Regions from separate parts of the Homo sapiens genome. Here all the other regions are linked to region 1. Evidence: promoter capture Hi-C in 16 types of primary human blood cells and fetal thymus (Javierre and others, 2016). All regions are on one chromosome and are shown on one strand. The core of a region is centred on a gene start or on the middle of the fragment in contact, and the rest is flanking DNA. Distances in the headings are between cores, read along the strand shown.

The links. Contacts are between HindIII fragments. The CHiCAGO score rates a contact against its expected background, and 5 or more counts as called.
Region 2: a fragment that was not itself captured here is called in contact with the fragment with the promoter of MECR in region 1 in 2 of 17 cell types (total B cells and naive CD4 T cells); the score reaches 8.6 in total B cells.
Region 3: a fragment that was not itself captured here is called in contact with the fragment with the promoter of MECR in region 1 in 13 of 17 cell types (total B cells, naive B cells, megakaryocytes and 10 more); the score reaches 17.8 in total B cells.
Region 4: a contact is called between a fragment that was not itself captured here and the fragment with the promoter of MECR in region 1, in 2 of 17 cell types (total B cells and naive B cells). The highest score is 9.9, in total B cells.
Region 5: a fragment that was not itself captured here is called in contact with the fragment with the promoter of MECR in region 1 in 1 of 17 cell types (naive B cells); the score reaches 6.5 in naive B cells.
Region 6: a contact is called between a fragment that was not itself captured here and the fragment with the promoter of MECR in region 1, in 6 of 17 cell types (endothelial precursors, naive CD8 T cells, total B cells and 3 more). The highest score is 7.8, in endothelial precursors.
Region 7: a fragment that was not itself captured here is called in contact with the fragment with the promoter of MECR in region 1 in 2 of 17 cell types (naive CD4 T cells and fetal thymus); the score reaches 5.5 in naive CD4 T cells.

The regions. Positions count from the first base shown.
Region 1 is chr1:29,229,348-29,232,206 of GRCh38, reverse strand. MECR (mitochondrial trans-2-enoyl-CoA reductase) reads left to right here and starts at 1,273. Exons shown (of 10, transcript NM_016011.5): 1 at 1,273-1,476. The coding sequence starts at 1,301. RefSeq lists enhancers at 1,262-1,371, 896-1,396, 1,397-1,897. The HindIII fragment of the contact is 2,647 bases long and covers 884-2,859 here.
Region 2 is chr1:30,670,818-30,673,599 of GRCh38, reverse strand. No RefSeq gene overlaps it. Among named protein-coding and RNA genes, the nearest start is that of MATN1-AS1, 47 kb to the left of the region's middle. The HindIII fragment of the contact is 9,811 bases long and covers 1-2,782 here.
Region 3 is chr1:30,692,319-30,695,112 of GRCh38, reverse strand. No RefSeq gene overlaps it. Among named protein-coding and RNA genes, the nearest start is that of MATN1-AS1, 25 kb to the left of the region's middle. The HindIII fragment of the contact is 178 bases long and covers 1,242-1,419 here.
Region 4 is chr1:30,800,397-30,803,279 of GRCh38, reverse strand. No RefSeq gene overlaps it. Among named protein-coding and RNA genes, the nearest start is that of LINC01778, 23 kb to the left of the region's middle. RefSeq lists an enhancer at 1,204-1,498. The HindIII fragment of the contact is 1,338 bases long and covers 852-2,189 here.
Region 5 is chr1:30,929,846-30,932,659 of GRCh38, reverse strand. It overlaps PUM1 (pumilio RNA binding family member 1), which reads left to right. Exons shown (of 22, transcript NM_001020658.2): 22 at 1-1,154. Among named protein-coding and RNA genes, the nearest start is that of SNORD103A, 4.5 kb to the left of the region's middle. The HindIII fragment of the contact is 2,423 bases long and covers 50-2,472 here.
Region 6 is chr1:30,762,051-30,764,960 of GRCh38, reverse strand. No RefSeq gene overlaps it. Among named protein-coding and RNA genes, the nearest start is that of LAPTM5, 5.7 kb to the right of the region's middle. The HindIII fragment of the contact is 4,408 bases long and covers 1-2,910 here.
Region 7 is chr1:30,742,955-30,745,654 of GRCh38, reverse strand. The region is part of intron 1 of LAPTM5 (lysosomal protein transmembrane 5); the gene reads left to right. LOC105378620 (a long non-coding RNA gene) reads left to right here. Exons shown (of 2, transcript XR_007065566.1): 2 at 1-1,865. Among named protein-coding and RNA genes, the nearest start is that of MIR4420, 5.1 kb to the right of the region's middle. RefSeq lists enhancers at 1-85, 96-155, 1,597-1,726. The HindIII fragment of the contact is 521 bases long and covers 1,020-1,540 here.

The sequences.
Region 1 (2,859 bases), core at 24-2,523:
TGGTGACTTGTCCGAAATCAAATGGCTGGAAAATGGCAGAGCTAGGACATAAAGCCAGGTTTGTCCAAATCTAGCTCACAGTACTTTGCTGTGCTCTCTTCCTCAGAGGAAAGGCTTGGAGATGGCAAGCTTCAAGTCAATAAAATCCAGGAAAGGAACTCTTCCTTATCCTTCAAAGCCCTGGCTCAGTATCTTAAAACCTGTTTCCTGGGACACCTGCATCAGAATATTCTTGGGAGCTTGTAAGGATGTAGATTCCTGGAACCCCCATCCGCAAGATTCTAATTCAGTAGGTCTAAGATGGGACCTCGGATTATTTTTATGCACACAGAAGATTTTGAATCACAGGGCTGGCTCTAACAGCACCTCCTCCAAGAGCCCCCACCCCATCCCACCCCATCCCAGAGCACTTCTCTTCAGACTACAGCATTGCACTCTGGCACGAGCCACAGCTCGATCTGGGGTTTTAGTAATGTTCATGTCTTCCCTACACCAAAAATCAGACTAGATCCTTCATAGGGCTACACCTTTTTACAGGCATTTCCAGTGTTCCACTTAATCCCTTTCTACACTGTGAGCATTTTGAGAGAGGACCCTTCTCCTTGTGATTCCTGTCTTACATCTGAACAGAGTTTTTTACAATGCGTTCTCCCACCCACAATAGCATTCCTCTATTATTTCATCCAATCCTCACAACAATCCGGAAGGAGGCATATTATCCCCATTGTACCGATGAGAAAAATTCAGAGTTTCACCTGCCCAAGGTGGCCAAGCTAGGAAGTGGCAGGGCTAGGATTTGAACCTAAGTTTTCTAACTCCAAGCCCCATACTCCTGCCTCCACAGCAGCTTTCGTGTACTCTCCTCAGTGTAGGGAAGTAAGCTTTGCCTCCCTATGCCGTTACATGGTAGTGGTGATTAAATGAGATAATACCTTAAAGAGCCTGGCTCGGTGAGCACTCAATATATTATGTGAAGGGTAAACTGAGGCCAGGGAGAGTAAATATTTCCTCCAAATCAAACACCAAACTGCAGGCTGTAGACACGACTTTGGACTAGCCCCAGACTCTCCTTGTTGAGACAACAGCTTTGGCGGCCTCGCAAGCTCCGCACCCCCGGATCCCTCCGGGGCCCACACGCAGTCTAGCCAGGCGCCACCACTTGGGCAGCGAAGGAAGGAAACGCCCTTCAAAGGGACCAAGGGGGAGTGGTCACCCGGCGGGGCAGGGGCGGGGCGCAGGCGCGCGGTCGCTGGAAGATGACGTAGCCGGGGCGTCAGGCTCTGTGTTGGTTGGAGCGAGCATGTGGGTCTGCAGTACCCTGTGGCGGGTGCGAACCCCCGCCCGGCAGTGGCGGGGGCTGCTCCCAGCTTCTGGCTGTCACGGACCTGCCGCCTCCTCCTACTCCGCATCCGCCGAGCCTGCCCGGGTCCGGGCGCTTGTCTATGGGCACCACGGGGATCCAGCCAAGGTCGTCGAGTAAGAGACGGCGCCGAAGCCGGGGAAGGGGACTGGGGTTTCTGGAAGGCTTTAACACGAGCTGCGGACTGGGAAGAGAGGGACAGGGTCCGAGGAAGGGGGCAGAGAATAGCAAACCGAAGCCGAAGCCCAGGGCGTTTTTGGTAGGTCAGAAAGACCGTACTTGAAGGTAGCTGAAGACCCGAGAGGCAATTATCAGGGTATTAATGGCTGATGTTTATTGATCGAATATTGTGTCAGGCAATCCCTTGTTTAAATGGATGCTCTCATTTAATTGTCACAACAATGTTTTGGGGTAGTTATTGATTTATCCCCATTTTGCAGATGAAAACTGAGGCAGAAGAGGTAAAATCACTCGTCCAAGGTCACACAGCCAGTAAGTGACAGGGTCAGAATTCCAACCTATGTCTGACTGACCTGCGTGAGTTCTTACTATTATTATTATTATTTGGAAGAAGTTTTCAGAATACTTTTACATCCATTTGGATCTTCATGTGTCAGTAAAGAGTAGGTCATAGATCATTGTTTCCAGAGGGCAAGGGACTTGCCCAGAGTGATACCGCTAATAAGTGATTGGAACAGGAGACTGGAATCCATGGCTTCTGATTCCAAACTCATGTTTCTCTCCACTGCACCGTATATGCATCTTGGCTTGGTTAAAAAGAGCTGCTTTGGTGCCATACAGACCCAAGTATCTATATTTGGTCAAATACAGGCTCAACGTCTTAGTAGCTGTTTGGTCTTAGAGAAGTCATTCAACTTCTCGTTACTTTTATGACTTTGTCCTCCTCCTAAAATTCTGTTGGATCTTAATTCATGCTTTTTGCACGTGGTTGATAAAAATAGTATGTCAGTTGCCAACCATTGTAAATCTGCACATAAATAGCCATTCAGAAGGGCTATTGGGGCCACTGAAGTGGAGCTAAAGCAAAAGCACAGGTCTGGGAATCAAAATACTTGGGGTCAAATCCTTGTCCTAGCTTTGCATTTGGCAAGTTACTGAGGTTCTCTGAGCCTCGGTTTCATCATCTTAAAAAATGGAGACAGTACAGACAAAGTTCATAGTGGTAATCACCTAAGATCTATGTAGTGCTCTCCACCAAAAAACACCTGCATACTCTTGTGCAGTACCTTCTTTTTAACTCTTTGATTCCCAGCAAATAGTTTGATTATTTTCCAAAGGATGGGCAAATGTGGTATTACTTTAATGGTTAAAATTCAGGCTAGAGCTGGGCACGGTGGCTCACGCCTGTAATCCCAGCATTAGGGAGACTGAGGCGGGTGGATCACCTGAGGTCACGAGTTCTAGACCAGCCTGGCCAACGTGGCGAAACCCCATCTCTACTAAAAATACAAAAAAATTAGCCGGGCTTGGTGGTGGGC
Region 2 (2,782 bases), core at 273-2,772, 1.4 Mb before region 1:
CACTCATGGTGCTTTGTTTTCTTGTGTGTTCTGTGAGCTCATGTTCCTTAGAGGTTGCATTCTTTCAACTTGTATTGGTTGCTTCTCATCACTTGGGACCACTAGCAACTCAGAATCACTCTTTTTTTTTAAGACGGAGTCTCACTCTGTCTCCAGGCTGAAGTGCAGTGATGTGAGCTCGGCTCACTGCCTCCTGGGTTCAAGCCATTCTCCTGCCTCAGCCTCCTGAGTAGCTGGGATTACAGGCAAGTACCACCACACCCAGCTAATTTTTGTATTTTTAGTAGAGGTGGGGTTTCACCATGTTGGCCAAGATGGTCTCGATCTCCTGACTTTGTGATCCTCCTGTCTTGGCCTCCCAAAGTGCCGGGATTACAGGCATGAGCCACCACACCCAGTCCAGAATCACTTTTTATTAAATGTTCTATTTGAAGTTTTGGTCATGTATATCATAAATTTGACTCCAAATCCATAAGAAATAGTTACAATTTGTTTTCACAGTATTTCCTCTGTTCACCTGGCGCTGAGTTTGGGACAGACATGTTTTCTTGTTGCTCCTCTCTTTACAGCATGTTTATTTATTATTCAGCCATTCACAAAGGGTATAGTCCTTTGGGGTTCTCATTTTATGCTGGACTCTTCTATTAGGCCTATCACCGTGGTTGGCTCTGGGCTTTATCTCCTATGAATGTCTCCAGGGTTTTGTGAAACTTTGGGGAAAAATGCTAGTTTGGGTGCTTCTCACTGCCTAGGAATCCTTCTGTCTCTTTGTTTTTGGCCTCTTTGGATTTCATAATTTTGTGCCAGTTCATTGATGCCTTTAAAAGGATTAAAAAGAACTTTATCCAGCATTGAGGTTGTTTGCATGGGGAGAGTTGTTTAGGGTATCTGGTTGACCACACTGCCAAGAACAGAAGTTCAGGTGGGACATCTGAGCTGGGCTTTGAAGGATGGATGGGAGTTTTCCAAGTAAAGAAAGGAGTGGGGAGAAAGCGAAGCCTGGAAAGGGAATAGCAGGGTGAAAATGAGGCATGGGGGCAGGAAACTACACAGCATCTTCTGGAAAGGGCAAATGGGTCGAGACTTGTCTTATAGCAGGTGCTCAGAAAGGGTTTGTGGTTATCTGACTGTGAGTGCATTTGGCTAAGGACACGTGCTCAGGGGATTGCTTAGAAGCGAGGCTGGAGAAGTACATCAGGGCCGAATCATGATGGGCCTTAATGCCTGACAAATGGACTAAATGCAGAGGGATAAAATATTGAGAAACCTAAATCCTAAGGAATAGGCAGAGAAAGAAAGTCCTGCTGAGAAGACTGAGGAAGAGTGGACTGAGACACAGGAGGAGACTGCGAGAGACCTTGGTGAGGGCAGGCTTAGCGGGGCCAGGTGGGGTAATCGCCAAGAGCATCTCCTACCAAACAGCCTTGTACTCAATTGGGGAACTGGTGAGGGACATGCTGAGTAACTTAACTGACAGGATACTGAGCATATTTCTATATTAAGACAAATATGAATATCTTATGAAATGAAACATCAATGGTTCATAGTATTAGAGATAAAATATAACTCAGTGCTTGTTTTCATCAGGGCTCTCCAGAGAAATAGAACCAATATATACATATATGTGTATGCATGTGTATATACACATACACACATATGTAGATACTATGTATATGTATCTATATACATGTCTACATAGTATTATAGATGCTGTAGTATCCATAGTACATAAATACCGTGTGTGTGTGTGTGTGTGTGTGTGTGTGTGTGTGTGTGTATAGAGAGACAGAGAGAGATTTATTTTATTTTATTTCTTTTTGAGACAGCGTCTTGCTCTGTTGCCGAGGCTGGAGTGCAGTGGTGCAATCTCGGCTCACTGCAAGCTCCGCCTCCCGGGTTCACGCCATTCTCCTGCCTCAGCTGGGACTATAGGCGCCTGCCACCACGCCCGGCTATTTTTTGTTATCTTTAGTAGAGATAGGGTTTCACCGTGTTAGTCAGGATGGTCTCGATCTCCTGATCTCGTGATCTGCCTGCCTCGGCCTCCCAAAGTGCTGGGATTACAGGCGTGAGCCACTGCGCCCGGCCCAAGAGAGATTTATTTTAAGGACTGGATCACACAACTGTGGAGGCTTGGCAAGTCCAAACTCTAATGGGTGGGCCGCCAGGCTGGAAACTCAGGGAAGAGTTGCTATCTGGGTCCGCTAGCAGAATTCTTTCTTGCTCAGGGGAGCAAGTCATTCTTTATTCTACTCGGGCTTCCGACTGATGGGATGAGGCCCACCCACATTATGGAGGGCAATCTGCTTTACCAGAAGTCCACCAATGTAAATGTTAGTCTCATCTAAAAAGTGCCCTCAGAAACACCCAGAACAATGTTTGACCAAATATCTGGGCACCATGGCCCAGCCAAGGTGATACATAAACTTAACTACCGTGGTGCTTGAGGGCATCAGCTTTGGTTAAAACCCCTGAGCCCGGTGTGGTCTACTCTCTTCCACTTTTTGGAGAAAGCATGTGGAAAGCATGTGAAAAGCATTGTTCCTTCCCCCCCGTGCTGGGGCTGAGTCCTGGAGGGGATGGAAGAGCCCCCCATGTAGCAGCTACAAATTTCAGTTCAGAAGTCCATGAGATGTGGCTTGTTGTCTTTTCTCATGATCCTGACACATCTGGATCCTATCCCAGGGTGTGTCTCACTCCAGGGCCCATTCACCATCTTGGCATCTGTAGAAGCATCCCCTGCCCTCCCCTCGGCCACGGAGTCATGCAGGGAGCTGGGCTT
Region 3 (2,794 bases), core at 81-2,580, 1.5 Mb before region 1:
TGTAGGATCTAGGGCATTATAGCATTTGGGTCTCATGGTCCAGGAGCCCCAGATCTCTGCCCCACCACCCCCTCCTCCCAGGTCTCTCAGGGACTGGGCACTAATGGGTGGACCCCGGAGGTGACCGGAGCTGCTCATCAGAGGGAAGCCTGCCACCACTCAGTCGTGTCTGTGTGACCTGGGCTATATCACCTTCCCTCACTCTGCCTGGGGTGTCCTTTCACCCCGGGCTTGGGGTAGGACTTATCTGAGCATCCAGGTGGCTCTGGGTAGGAGAAGGCTCTGCCTTGGCTGCATTTGCAGAGAGCAGAGGCCCTGGTTTTATAGAGGGGTATTATGGTGTAAGAACACAAAATAGCAGAGACTCTTTATTCCAGAAAATTAAGTCATCCTTTTTCCTTGAGCATCTCACTTCTGACCAAGAAAGGCTGGTGGTAGAGACTGGGCCCGGTTCAGGGCTGGCTCTGTTGACCCAAGAGGCAATGACACAGATCTTGTCCAAAATCCATTCTGTGTGTTACAGTGATCTGAGGGCATCCTGCAGCTAAGTGCCCACTGGTCGGCTGCAATAATTAATTGATTTTATTGCCTATACTTGAGGCCTCTGGAGCCTTGGCATGTAAATACATGCAAATGAGCAGAGGAGCGGGTTGAATCCAAAGCCTGGGGGAGTATCTGCCTGGATTGGGCTAATTTCTCTGCTCACCTTTCCTGCTGTAATCCTACTGTGTTCTCAGGGAGCAGGAGAGTGGGGGACAAGGAGAAGGGGCCTTAGAGCCAGAGACACCTGGGTTCAAAGCCCAGCCCACCCCTTCCTGCTGTGTGTGGTCGTGGGCGAGTCCCTGCACCTCTCACTCTACCTGTCTCCATCATTGCGGGGCGGGGGTGGGTGGGGGGTGGGTAATGATCCTCCTGCCCTGCAGGGCTCTCATGGGCCTGAGGAAGCAGCACTCAGGAAACATGCCTCACACCCTTGCTGTAAGAAGCAGTGCAGCTTAGAGCTCCTAAATTATGTATTTCTGAGGTGGCGGGGAGGAGAGTGCAGTCATCTGGGCTTCGCAGCCCTGGCAGAGCAAGTGCTCCTTGAAAGGAGGTGTTGTGATTTCCCCTAATGAATGATGGCAATTGCTCCTTAATCCAGCCCTCGCCTCCTTTCCCATCCAGTACGGTACGTTTTATGTGTGACCTTTGCTGAAACACAACAATCTCTCTTCACATATTGGGGGAATTACAAGAAAGCTTGGAATTTAAACATCCTGAAAGATTTATTCTATGTAGTGGGTGGAATAACCCTCACAAAAAACATACAAATTATGTTAGGAGAAGTAGGTCTGAGGTGGGCTCCAGGCCTGGCTGGAGCCTCTGATGAGTGGGGCTGGGGACTGGAGGCTGCTCTGATCAAGGGTTCATGCAGAAGCTTCTTTGATTCTTGGTTCTGTCTGCATTGTATGCAAGTTATAGCATTTGATGGGCTTTGTCAGGACTGGTGGGTGCTGAGGTTTACTGAGCACCTACTGTGCGCCAGGGCTGCCCCATCAACCCATGTGCTGTCCCCTGACATGGACATGGCCACTCCCACTGTCCCGGAGGGGAGTCTGAGTTCCTGAGGATGACTGACTTGTCCCAGGCCACTCAGCTCGTTAAGTGGCAGGAGGGGAATTTGAACCCAGGTCTGGTTGACCCCAAAGTCCCTGCTTTTCCCCTGACCCCATACAGGAGGGACAAGGGGACTTGTACATCAGGGGGAGCTGAGACTGCAGACATTGGTGGTAGGACTTGCCACTGATCCAAGCCTGGGCTAGGTCCACAGTTAGTTCAGCTCAACGTTGGGTCTTTTCCTGTGAAGCACAGGCTGCTCACTTGGAGGTGGGTCCCATGAGGGCTGTTCCTGGGCCCCGGGAATGCACATCTCACTGGAGGAGCCAACATTCCAAGCAGACAGTGGGGAGAGAGATATGATGGCATTCTGGGGAAGCCCAAGTCACCCCTGAAGAGGCAGGCTGTGGAGACGACACTGAACTCACAAACGGGCTAGGAAGGGCACCTGGGCAGGGGGCTGGGAGGAGCGGAGGCCGGGGTGGGAGTCGACTGGCAGATGCATTCATTGAGCAAACCTCCATTGATACCACCAAGGAAACTTGTTGTTCTCTCCACTGCATCCTGTTCTCCCCCACCTTTTTTCTCTTTCTCCCCACTTCCTCCTCCTTGTCTCCTCCTCTTCCTCTTCCTTACTCTTCTCTTCTTCCTCCTTCTTTTCTCCTCCTCTTCTTTCTCTTTCTCCTTCCTCTCTTCTCTTCCTCTTTTTCTTCCTCCTCTCTTCTTCCTCCTCCCCTCTTCCTCCTTGCTTCCTCTTCCTCCTCTCCCTCCTCCTCCCTCTCTTCTTCTCTTCTTCCTCTTCCTCCTCTCCCTTCCACATCCTCCTCCCATTCTCCTCCTCCAGGTAGAATTAACCCCTGCTATCTTCCAGGTCCCAGTGTAGGCAGCACCTCCTTGGGGAGCTCCCTGATCCCCCAGGATGGGCTAGGGGACCCTGTAGCTCCCACACCCTCTGTGTCTCCCTCATCAGATCCCACGGTGCTGCCATCATCTGTTCCTCACTGGACTGGGGGCCTGGAGGGCAGTGATGGCTTCTCTGTCCCCGTGGTGACTGAATAGCTCTGCCCTCCCTGGCTGCGGGGGCTGGACCAGTTTCCTCACCACTCAGACCTCAGTGTCCTCCTGTCAGAGGGGTGGTAGTCCACATCCCCCAGGCTTGTGCGAGGGCTCAGGCACAATGATGGCGCTGGCAAGGTGT
Region 4 (2,883 bases), core at 271-2,770, 1.6 Mb before region 1:
CCTCGACCTCCTGGGTGTAGGTGTTTCTCCCACTTCAGGCTCCCAAGTAGCAGCTGGGACTGCAGGCGCACACCACCATGCCCAACTGGTTTTTTTTTTTTTTTTGAGACAGAGTTTTGCTCTTGTTGCCCAGGCTGGAGTGCAATGGCACGATCTCAGGTCACCGAAACCTCTGTCTCCCGGGATCAAGTGATTCTCCTGCCTCAGCCTCCCAAGTAACTGGGATTACAGGCATGCGGCACTATGCCCAGCTAATTTTGTATTTTTGGTAGAGATGGGGTTTCACCACATTGGTCAGGCTGGTCTCAAACCCCTGACCTCTGGTGATCCTTCCACCTTGGCCTCCTAAAGTGCTGGGATTACAGGTGTGAGCCACTGTGCCCAGCCCCCCAGCTGTTTTATTTATTTATTTATATTTATTATTGTTATTTTTTTGAGATGGAGTTTCTCTCTTGTTGCCCAGGCTGGGGTGCAATGGCACAGTCTCAGCTCACTGCAATCTCTGCCTACTGGGTTCAAGCGATTCTCTTGCCTCAGTCTCCTGAGTAGCTGGGATTACAGGCACCTGCCACCACGCCTGGCTAATTTTTGTATTTTAGTAGAGACGGGGGTTTCACCATGTTGGTTAGGCTGGTCTTGAACTCCTGATCTCAGGTGATCCACCCGTCTCGGCCTCCCAAAGTGCTGGGATTATGGGCGTGAGCCACTGCGCCCAGCCTTATTTTTTGTATTTTTAGTTTGAGGCTGGCCTCGAACTCCTGAGCTCAAGTGATCCTCTCGCCTTGGCCTCCCAAAGTACTGGGATTACAGGCATGAGCCACCGTGCCAGGCCCACTTGCTGTCTTTAAGCTTCAGTTTCCCTCTCTGTAAAATGGGGGTAATACCACCCACCCCAACAAGGCGTTTGGTTAGGATTAAGTAAGATCATGGTGCCAGCCCTTAGACCTCAGTGAGTGTTTTACATTTTAAAAATGATTTTCCTCCCCAGCAGTTTTCCACGTCAAATTATTTGTTTCTAGAGAACGACCACGTAGCTGCTTGTAGCTGGCTTTCTTCGTCCATCCTTCCATCCACCCGCGGTTGGTCCCTGCTGGAGTCAGATCTGCAGCGGGCACTGTGGATCCAGAGGCAGCAGAGGAGAGGGGTCAGGAGAGGCCTCCCTAGGGCTGAGATCCCTGGTTGAGTTTTGCAGGCTGGCAGGGGAGCTGCATGTGCGAAGGCACAGAGGCCTGCCCGTGGAACTATGCGGAGCTTTATGAAAATCGGAATGGGTCAGGGGTACAAGCAAAGCCCCAGCGTTTCCAGCGTTCTTCCCAACCCTGTCGCCTGTCGCTCGACGCGGACCTCCTGCAAACGAAGCGCGGGTGCCCTCTGCTGGCCTTTCCGCGGACTGCAACTTCTACTTTGGGGACTCCCAGCCCCCGTGTCTTTGGGAGGCAAATGTCCATAAAAGCTGGAGTATCTCAACTGGAAAGACCCTCAGAAATCACCCACCCCTGACTTCCCGATGGAGACATGAGGCCCTGTGTGGGGCAGGGAGCTTGCACAGGGCAGGAATTCGGGCCCCTGAATCCAATAGAGGCTGGGCTGGCAGTGCCTGGGGTAGGGAGGTGCCCAGGGAGGGTTCTGGCCACGGAGCTCCAGCCTGCAGGAGGTGGGATGGGGGGTGGAGGGTGACTGCAGAGAGCAGAGGGGGTTTCAGATTCTCAGCCCCTTGCCCCATCTGGCTGGCTTAGTCGTGGGATTTCCTGTTTTGTCTTGGAGCAGCGGCATTGCAACCTGATAGCCATGAAACAGGAGCTCAAGATGAGTGTGTGTGTGTGTGTGTGTGTGTGTGTGTGTGTGTGTGTGTTTGTGTGTGTGTGTCTTGAAGGGTGATGTTGGCATCAATCAGTAGGTGTCCTGGGCTGGTGACATCACCCCCCTACTGCTCTGATCTTCCTTTAAAGCTCTTCCTTTCTCCACTCCTAAGTCCCCAGCGGCTGCCACTATCGCCTGGCCCTTGGTTCTCCAGCAAAGGTGGTGGCAGGTGAGAGGACATGAAAGCAGGAAAGACCCTTACCTTTAGAGCCCCAACAGAAGATAGCCATGGGTGCCAAAGCCCGGATGGGCTCAGAATGGGCAGGCTTCATAGGCGATGAGAAATGGGGAGGGTAAGAGAGAAGCAAGTTGAGGACAGTGCTCAAGCTTCTGGCCTAGATGATGGGTTGTGCCCTCGATGAGATGAGGAGCTTGGGAAGACCACAGTGACCTGATGCCTGGAAGCTCATCCTCTGTGGAGAGCACTGTTTTCTATATCATCCTCCTGGCAGGGTGGCTGTGTATGTGTGTGTGCATGTGTGTGTGTGTACATAGGCACTGTGTGTGTGCTGGGTATGCCATGTCCATCAGCTGGGAGACTGGGTTTACTAGGGATGGGGCCATAAGACCAGGAGGAGGCCTGCCTTGGCTAGGAAGTGACCCTTTGTTTCCAGTATGGATCACATCAAGGCCAGTAAGACTGCGGTCTGTTCCTGGTTGATGGTGGGCAAGGAGGGCCTGGCTTAGCCTGGCTTAGAGTGCAGATGGGAGTTCCAGGCCTGCACCCATCTTTCCCAGTAGGGTGGCCTCAGGCAAGTGCCTGCCTCTCTCTAGGCCTCTGTGCCCTCACCTGACAAATGGGGCCAATGAAGCATAGATGCGTGGAGAGGGCGAATGAGGCACTGCAGGAAGAGTGCCCAGTGCCGCGTCTGGCACACCGTGGGCCCTGGGTGAAGGGCGGAAGGTATTAGTATTTCTTAGCTGGCTGCTCTGGTGCTTGGTAGTCGGGACCCATCTCCCTGTCTGACTTTATTGCTCCTAGGCCTTCCTCCTCACTCTGCTCCAGCTGCACTGGCCCTCCTT
Region 5 (2,814 bases), core at 12-2,511, 1.7 Mb before region 1:
TATATATATATATATATATAATGAAAAAGGTTTCAGAGTTGCTAAAGCTTCAGTTTGTGACATTAAGTTTATGAAATTCTAAAAAATGCCTTTTTTGGAGACTATATTATGCTGAAGAAGGCTGTTCGTGAGGAGGAGATGCGAGCACCCAGAACGTCTTTTGAGGCTGGGCGGGTGTGATTGTTTACTGCCTACTGGATTTTTTTCTATTAACATTGAAAGGTAAAATCTGATTATTTAGCATGAGAAAAAAAAATCCAACTCTGCTTTTGGTCTTGCTTCTATAAATATATAGTGTATACTTGGTGTAGACTTTGCATATATACAAATTTGTAGTATTTTCTTGTTTTGATGTCTAATCTGTATCTATAATGTACCCTAGTAGTCGAACATACTTTTGATTGTACAATTGTACATTTGTATACCTGTAATGTAAATGTGGAGAAGTTTGAATCAACATAAACACGTTTTTTGGTAAGAAAAGAGAATTAGCCAGCCCTGTGCATTCAGTGTATATTCTCACCTTTTATGGTCGTAGCATATAGTGTTGTATATTGTAAATTGTAATTTCAACCAGAAGTAAATTTTTTTCTTTTGAAGGAATAAATGTTCTTTATACAGCCTAGTTAATGTTTAAAAAGAAAAAAATAGCTTGGTTTTATTTGTCATCTAGTCTCAAGTATAGCGAGATTCTTTCTAAATGTTATTCAAGATTGAGTTCTCACTAGTGTTTTTTTAATCCTAAAAAAGTAATGTTTTGATTTTGTGACAGTCAAAAGGACGTGCAAAAGTCTAGCCTTGCCCGAGCTTTCCTTACAATCAGAGCCCCTCTCACCTTGTAAAGTGTGAATCGCCCTTCCCTTTTGTACAGAAGATGAACTGTATTTTGCATTTTGTCTACTTGTAAGTGAATGTAACATACTGTCAATTTTCCTTGTTTGAATATAGAATTGTAACACTACACGGTGTACATTTCCAGAGCCTTGTGTATATTTCCAATGAACTTTTTTGCAAGCACACTTGTAACCATATGTGTATAATTAACAAACCTGTGTATGCTTATGCCTGGGCAACTATTTTTTGTAACTCTTGTGTAGATTGTCTCTAAACAATGTGTGATCTTTATTTTGAAAAATACAGAACTTTGGAATCTGGGTTTGTGCTTTATTTTAACCTCTCCCCCCACCCCACCCCCAGTGTAGTTCCCCAGGACAGCCCTTTCCTGCTCATGCTTCTTTCTGCTTGTTTTGTTGTTTTGTGAGGGTGGGAGGAGAGGTGCCAAACTAATGGCTCTTTGAGCCCAATTTAAACCAAAGATGTTTGGTTCAGCCTGCCCAGTGCATTCAGAATCAAGATACTGCACATACAAATCCAGATTTCCAACTCTGCACATCAGAATATTCTCCTTGGGCCCCTGAGATGAGCTGTCTGGGTTACAGCACCGTCTGTCTGGGCCTCTCCTCCTCCGCGTTTCCTCTGTTTGGGCTGCTCCATTTGCTCCCTGCCAACCTGTGCCCACTACTGAGGCCTGCCAAGCAGTCCAATGTCTGAGCATGCTCATCTCTTCAGACTGGGGAGCCTCTTTTAGCTTGTAACACAGGAGGCTGGAGCTCACAATTGTGCCCGTGGCCCTAGCCTGAGGATGCCATCTGCCCTTCTTCACCGACTTTGCTCCAGGGGCAGATTTGGTAAGTGTTGGCAGTTACAGGCTGGGTCCAGCCAGAGAGGCCAGGTGGAAGCCCACACCAGCTGGTGTCTGGAAGTGGAGCGTCAGGATGGTTGAAGGAACTTCACATGGGCCCCTCAAGGGGAAGGGCTAATCACTAACAGGCCCTGGGAATAGGGGGAGAAGAAAAGGAAGCTGAGGGGATGCAGGTTTCCAGTCCAGCATGTGATTTTGCCTCAGCAGCTGTCGTTGGGGCCCTTTCCCAGCATTCCCCACTGCAGTAGCCATCATGGCGCTTGCAGAGGTGGCATGCTGCGGGCATTGGGAACTGCAGTCCATGCTGCTCTGATAGCATGATTCCAGTCAGATTGACCTGGGGTCACATGTGGGTCTCGCCACTCTGTGTGCACTTGGGCAAGTTAGTTCACCTCATCTTTCACCAAATTCCTTGCTGGAAGTGGACCAAAGGTAACAGATCTATGTAAAGTGGCTCTCTTGTCATGTCATGGGAAATTATGGCAATTAAATTGTGTCCAGCACACTGGTGTAATAAATGATACCAGTTTCCCTGCACAGTTTTTGATGAACAAAACTATCTTTGTTCATTAGTTTACATAATAATGTCATTTGTTGTGAACCGACTCTGCGTCAAGTCACACATGAGATGGTTTTCACATGTTCTCAACAACTGTTCTGGGAACCAACAGCCCTGTGAAGAATGCGGCTGTCCCTATCTCATAGATGTGGAAATAGGTCCTAGGATCTGATGCAAGTCTTTTGATAGACCAACTCTGATCAATAAAGCTTTCCCCTTAGTTCATCATGCGAGGGGGTGGGCATGGGGGCAGACCCCTCCATCTGCAGGATTGGGTTTCATGGAGTGGCCTGGGCTCTGGGCCACCCCCTCTTCTGACCACCATTACTCTGCTACCAAGTCCGTCCCAAGGATTCTATGGCCCGGGCTGTCGTCACACACTGGGTACCGGCATTCTTGGTCTCTCTTCCAGAGTCCCTCCAATGTGCATTCCTCAGTTTATGTAATAACCCTTACCCTCTCACAGTGCTTTACAGTTTACAGAGTACTTTGTATTTGAGATACCATTGGTCCTTGTAGAAAGCTTTAGGGAGTCAGGGAGAGATGTTTCAGC
Region 6 (2,910 bases), core at 90-2,589, 1.5 Mb before region 1:
TCCTAATGGGGGCATCCTCACAAGCAAGCACAGGTAGTGGGCTCCAGGAGCCGAGGCAGAGCTGTTCTGTGGGGAGTGTGACCTTTCAGTCAGATGCATGCCCTAGTTGATCTCCTCGTTTGTCAAAAGGTTTTAATTGTTCAGGTACATATATAGCCAGGTGCGGTGGCTCACACCTGTAATCCCAGAACCTCGGGAGGCTGAGGTGGGAGAACCTTTTATCCCAGGAGTTCGAGACCAGCCTGGTCAACAAAGTGAGCCCCCATTTCTACAAAAGATAAAAAAGTTGGCCGGGCATGGTGGTGCATGCCTGTGGTTCCAGCTACTTGGGAGGCTGAGGTGGGAGGATTGCTTAAGCCTGGGAGCCCGAGGCTACAGTGAGCTGTGTGCAGCATTGCACTTCAGCCTGGGTGACACAGCAGGACCCTGACTCAGAAAAAAGAAAAAAAATTATATATGTATATATATTCTGAATTTGTTGGTGGTCTAGACCTCCTGCTCTTTAGCCACTTGTTGGACAGTGGCCCGGAGCCCCAGGCCTGATAGATCCCAGCCCTCCAAGCCCCTTGGCCAAAGAAACCCTTCCCTGCTGGGTGAAGCAGTGTGGCTGGCCCAGGCAGCAGCCCCTGGAGCCTGGTTGGTTCAGGTCAGGCCTCTCTTTCTGCTCCCTGCCTTTTGCCACAGCAAAGTCTCAGGTGTGGGGTGGCGTAGGGGGTTGGATCTGGGCAGTAGGGGTGGAGGAAGGCAGACAGATTTGGGAGGTGGGAGGGAAGCAGAATCCACAGGGCTTGGCGATTGGGAGGAGGTGGAAGTGAGGGTGAGGAGAGAGAGGAGGCTGTGCTGTGGTCTCTGGCTGGGCAGTGGGGAGGCTGGAGGGGCCAACACCCAGAGGGGTCAGTTTGAGATGTATGGAGTGCACGATGGGTGCGGTGTGTGCGTGTGTGTGTGTGTGTGTGTGTGTGTGTGCACGCCATACAGGGGTACTAAGACTCAGTGGCTGATCTGGGCAGGGACTAGCCACAGCTGGGGTCCCCAGAGTAGGGATGGTGGCCCTAGAACAGCAGGGGTGGCCCCCTCATGGCCTGGCCCTTCGGGCTGCTCTGTGCCGGGCACTGGCAGGAAGAGCCTGAGTCACAGTTGGGCTCTTCAGCCTGCAGCTGGCTGAAAATTTATGGATGTCCCTGAGAGGGGTGGTCAGGAGGCCTGGCTGGCTGACGGGAGCTGCCTAGCTGTTTACCCAGTGCCGAGGAATTTGAGGGCAGCAACAGCCCAGTCGCTTTGGAGGGGGTCCAGCCTCTGGGTGCAGCTGCTTGGAGTAACCTGCCTGGTGCCGGGGCCTGGCTGAGAGGGGCCAGGCCTCAGAGAGCATGGATTTGGACACCTCTTTGATGTTATAGACAGGAAAACAGAAGTTGGAGTGGGGAAGTGGCCATTCCAAAGCCCCACAGCAATTCTGTGCTCCAGTCAAGACCAGAAACCAGGCTAGGAAGGCAGCAGGAGGAAGTGATGGAGAGCTGTCACTTGCTGAGATGCTCTTGTTCATGTGTGTCCTTGTTCACCGCCTCCTCTACTAGAATGTTTGCTCCATGAGACCAGGGACCTTGTCTGCCTTGTTCACTGCTATGTCCTGAGCACACAAAACAAGGCTCTTGTTGAAGGGATGAAGTCAGAAGGCCTGGGGAGGTTTTTTTCCCTCACATTACAAGATGTACAGAGAAAGGAGGTTCAGGGCTGGTGCAGAGGCTTCATGATGGCATCAGGGATCCCGGCTCTTCCTCTCTTTCCGCTCTGCATTAGGGTATCGTTTTTGTTCTCATGGTCCCCAAATGGCTTCTGTGCCTCCAGGCATTGCACCTGCATTTACAGAAGGTCGAAGGGAGTTAGGACAATGGGTAGAAGACATGTGCTTATGAAGTCTGTCCCTTTCAAATCAAGAAAGTTGCAGCTTTCCTAGAAGTGACTAAATCGCACACCATGTGTAGTAGTTCTCTACCTTGCTTCTTCTTCTTCTTCTTCTTTTTTAGGTATCTAAAGCCTGGCCCCAGATTTGGTCCTCAGTGGGGCCTATCACTTTTGTTGTTTGCTAGTGGTTGTTGTTTCATTTTTTAAAATAAAAATCCCCTAGCTGGGGGAATGACCTAATGAGGTAACTCCTACTGTGGTGTTGATGGCAGTTGTGCTATTTTGCCACCAACTTCTTAAGGTGCCTGGATCTCTGAGGTTTTTCCTGAGGATGAGGTCAGCAGCAGGGAGGAGGGGGCTCTGGCAGAGGCTGGTGCTTAGGAGGGAATTACCTAGTCCTTGCAGCAGCACACTGGATGCGCTATGACAATCCCCACTCTACAGCTCAGAGTGAGGCAGAGGCTGGTTGGAGACCAGGGCCAGGAGGGAGCCGGGTTTTCCAGCTCCCCATGGATAGTACGGCTGCACCCATGATCTAAAATGCTCCGTCCTGGGGTGTGCCCAGAGCTGTTATTCAGCAGGAGGCTGCTGGCTCGGCTATGCAGACTTTGCAGCCAGTGCTCCTTCTGCCTGCTGGTCCCATCTCCCTGGAGCCTTCAGCCTGCAGTGCCTGTGGCAGCAGCAGACTAGGATATGGTGTCATTGTGCCCCTGGGTGCAGCCAGGGACCCCTGGACTGCCTGGCTGAGGGGAGGCCTCCTTGGAGTGTCTGGCAGACCGTTGGGGTCCCCTGCCTGCCCACTGGACTCAGCAGCTGGTCATTGGAAGGTCTGGTTGTCCCCAGGCCACAGGCCTGTGGGCTGTCCTTGCCAGGCTGACCCTCCAGGCTGACTTCAAGGCCTGGGCCCCTTCCACAGGCAGGGGAGTAGGGGAGGGACCCTGTGGGTTGCACGTGTAGGCCCTGACCCCTGGTGACCGTGCTGGGTTCGGGGCAGGAGACAGGAGAGAA
Region 7 (2,700 bases), core at 31-2,530, 1.5 Mb before region 1:
CTGAGGTTGCCTCGCTCTGTGACTGTGGGCTGGTCCCCTGCCCTCTATGAGTCTCGTGAGCCATCCGGCAATGGGGACAAAGTCCTCCCTCGTCCCCTGCCGCAGGGTTGTTGAGAAAAGGTGAAATGGGGGAGGGTGAGCCTGGGTTTTAAATGCAGGTGGTTTTCACAAAAGTAGAAATACCTCTGGTGCCTGGTGCTGGGGCTGAGGGGAGGGAGGGGGGACTGCAGAGGGAGAGGGGATGGGGGCGCCTCTCTGCCTCCACTGAGGCACTGAGGGGAAGGGTTAGGCCTTAGGCAGAGCCCGGGTGGCTGGAAGATGCCGGGCAGCGGAGGGAATTGGCCAAGATTTGAACCCTAGCCCTGCATATGACCAGCTGGGAGGCCTTGGGCAAGGCCCTGGACCTCTCTGAGCTGCACTTTCTTCGTCTGTGAAATGGGAAGGAAAGTATTAAGAATAGTCCCTTTTCTGGGTAGTGGGGAAGATCATGTGGCATGGAGTTAGGCTGTACAAATGTCCCCTTCTTCCCCTGGGGTGATTGGAGGGGTTACAGGGCAGTAAGGGATGCTTGGAGGAGAACAGAGGAGTTGTAGGGGGAGTTGAGGATTAGTAGAGGTCTCTAAAGTCGGGTAATGTCCAAGGTGACCTCATGGCCTCAGGAGGACAATATTAAAATTTCTAAATTTTTCCATCATATAATTTTTTAATTTCTGGAAATTTTTTAGTAGCTGTTTTATGATGTTCATGATAAACTAGGACAGCAACACATGCGTGTAATTTAGAAAGAAAGAAAAATAGAGGCGTGTGTGCAAAAGGTTTTACTGACATAGATGCATGATCAAAATATCTAAGTCCTCTCCGGGGTTCAGGCTAGCAGGGCTCTGAGGCATTTTGGGGGTCAGGGGAATGGGAAGGCATCAGAACAGCACTGGGAGACTTGGGCTCCTCCCTCAACTTGCTGTGTGTCCTTGGGCAAGCCACCTAATCTCTCTGAGTTTATAAAACAAGCAGAGGAAGCTTATAAAACAAGTACATGCAGGCTCCTTCTAGCAAGGGGAGGTTGAGATGATCTGATTCTAGGCTTTGTTCCAGATCTCAGATAATCCTGGAATCTTGAGACTTTGAAAGTCTTCTCATTTCACAGCTGGCAGATGCTCATGGTCCTTCTCTAAGCCCAGCTGTGACTCATCTGTGATCTGCTTACATACTCCCAGGAACAGGGAGCTCACCACTTCACAGGACACCCCGTTCTGTGCTGGACGGAGCTGTCATCTGCCTCCCTTTCTCTTTCTCTCGTTCAAGGTGAAACTGAGAGGAGAGGGGCTGCGGCCTGGCCTTTAGGGGCTGAGGAAGGAGTTTTTTTCTCTCAGGGCTGTTTCCTGTGAGTGTCAGCCACAGCCCTCACCACACCTGCCTTCTTTTTGGGGTGTTCTCAACTTTCCTGATGAGACAAAGCCTTTCCAGCTCACTCTTTAGCAGGTAGAGGGGGCAGTTAGAGCATGCACCGTGCTCCTGGTACTACTGCCGAACCACGTAAGCTTGCCCCAGCCAAAAGCAGATTCTGTTTGCTGGGCACCCCCTGCCAGTCCCTGAGCTCAGTGCTTTGCAAATATAATGCAATTTAATCTTCACTAAATCCAGTGATTGCAATTTTCCAGATGAGGAAACTCAGAGAGGTTAAGAGACTTGCCCAAGGTCACACAGTGACCTGGATTCAAAATCCTCTTGATCTGATTCTGGAGCCCAGCTCTTCATCACTCTTCCGTTCAGTCCCTTTCCACGCCCCTAAACAGGATGTAATGTGGCAGGAAGACAAGTTGAGACCTGTGTCTGAGCTAAAAAAAAAAAAAAAAAAAAAACCCACACAGTCAGCAAGGGGGAAACAGATGGTGGGTGGCTGGTTGCCTGTCAGCTGAGCATGAGTTACCAGTGCAGGGCTGCCTAGAAAGCCGATGTAAACTTAGGGCCATATTAATAGAGATAGGGCACCGACTAGAGGGGAGGGGACAGTTTTCTTGTTCTTTATATGGGCAGAGGTTACCTGGAGAACTGTATGTATGTCATAGGGGAAGGGTGGAGGGCTTGCTGTGAGGACATGGACACACATAAGGTTGTGAGTTCCCCATGGCTGGAAGCACTTAAGTAGAGGCTGCATGGCACAGGTTTATGGGAGGCATGGATAAGGTGACCTCCAAGGTTCTTTAAAACTGCAGTTTTGTGGCTGAACTTCAGTTGTTTCTAGGGCCACCCCAACACTCAGGCCTATCAGATTCGCCCCTTCCACATCATTCTTAGCAAGGGTCATCTGAGAGTGTGGGGTTCATTTGTTCATTCATTCATTCATTCATTCATTCAACAAATACAACAGCTAGGGGAATGAACAAAGAGACATACAGGCTTTCCCTGCCTGGAACCTACAGTCGAATGGGGATAATGGATAACAGCACAGATTGAGTGCTTACTATCTGCCAGGTACTTTAAGTGAATTATCCCATCTGGCCCCACCACAATCCTATGAGGAAGATGTTATTGTTCCCTGAGGGGCCATGGGAGACAGAGATTCAGGGTTAGATGCTCTCCAGGGCCCTCCTGGGCCTGTGTTGATGATTCCGGGAACCTGAAGCTCTATGGTGCTCTCTGATCCCCAGAGCTTGTTGTTACAGAAGGGGATGCAGTGGAGGGGCCTTCAGCTTCTACCCC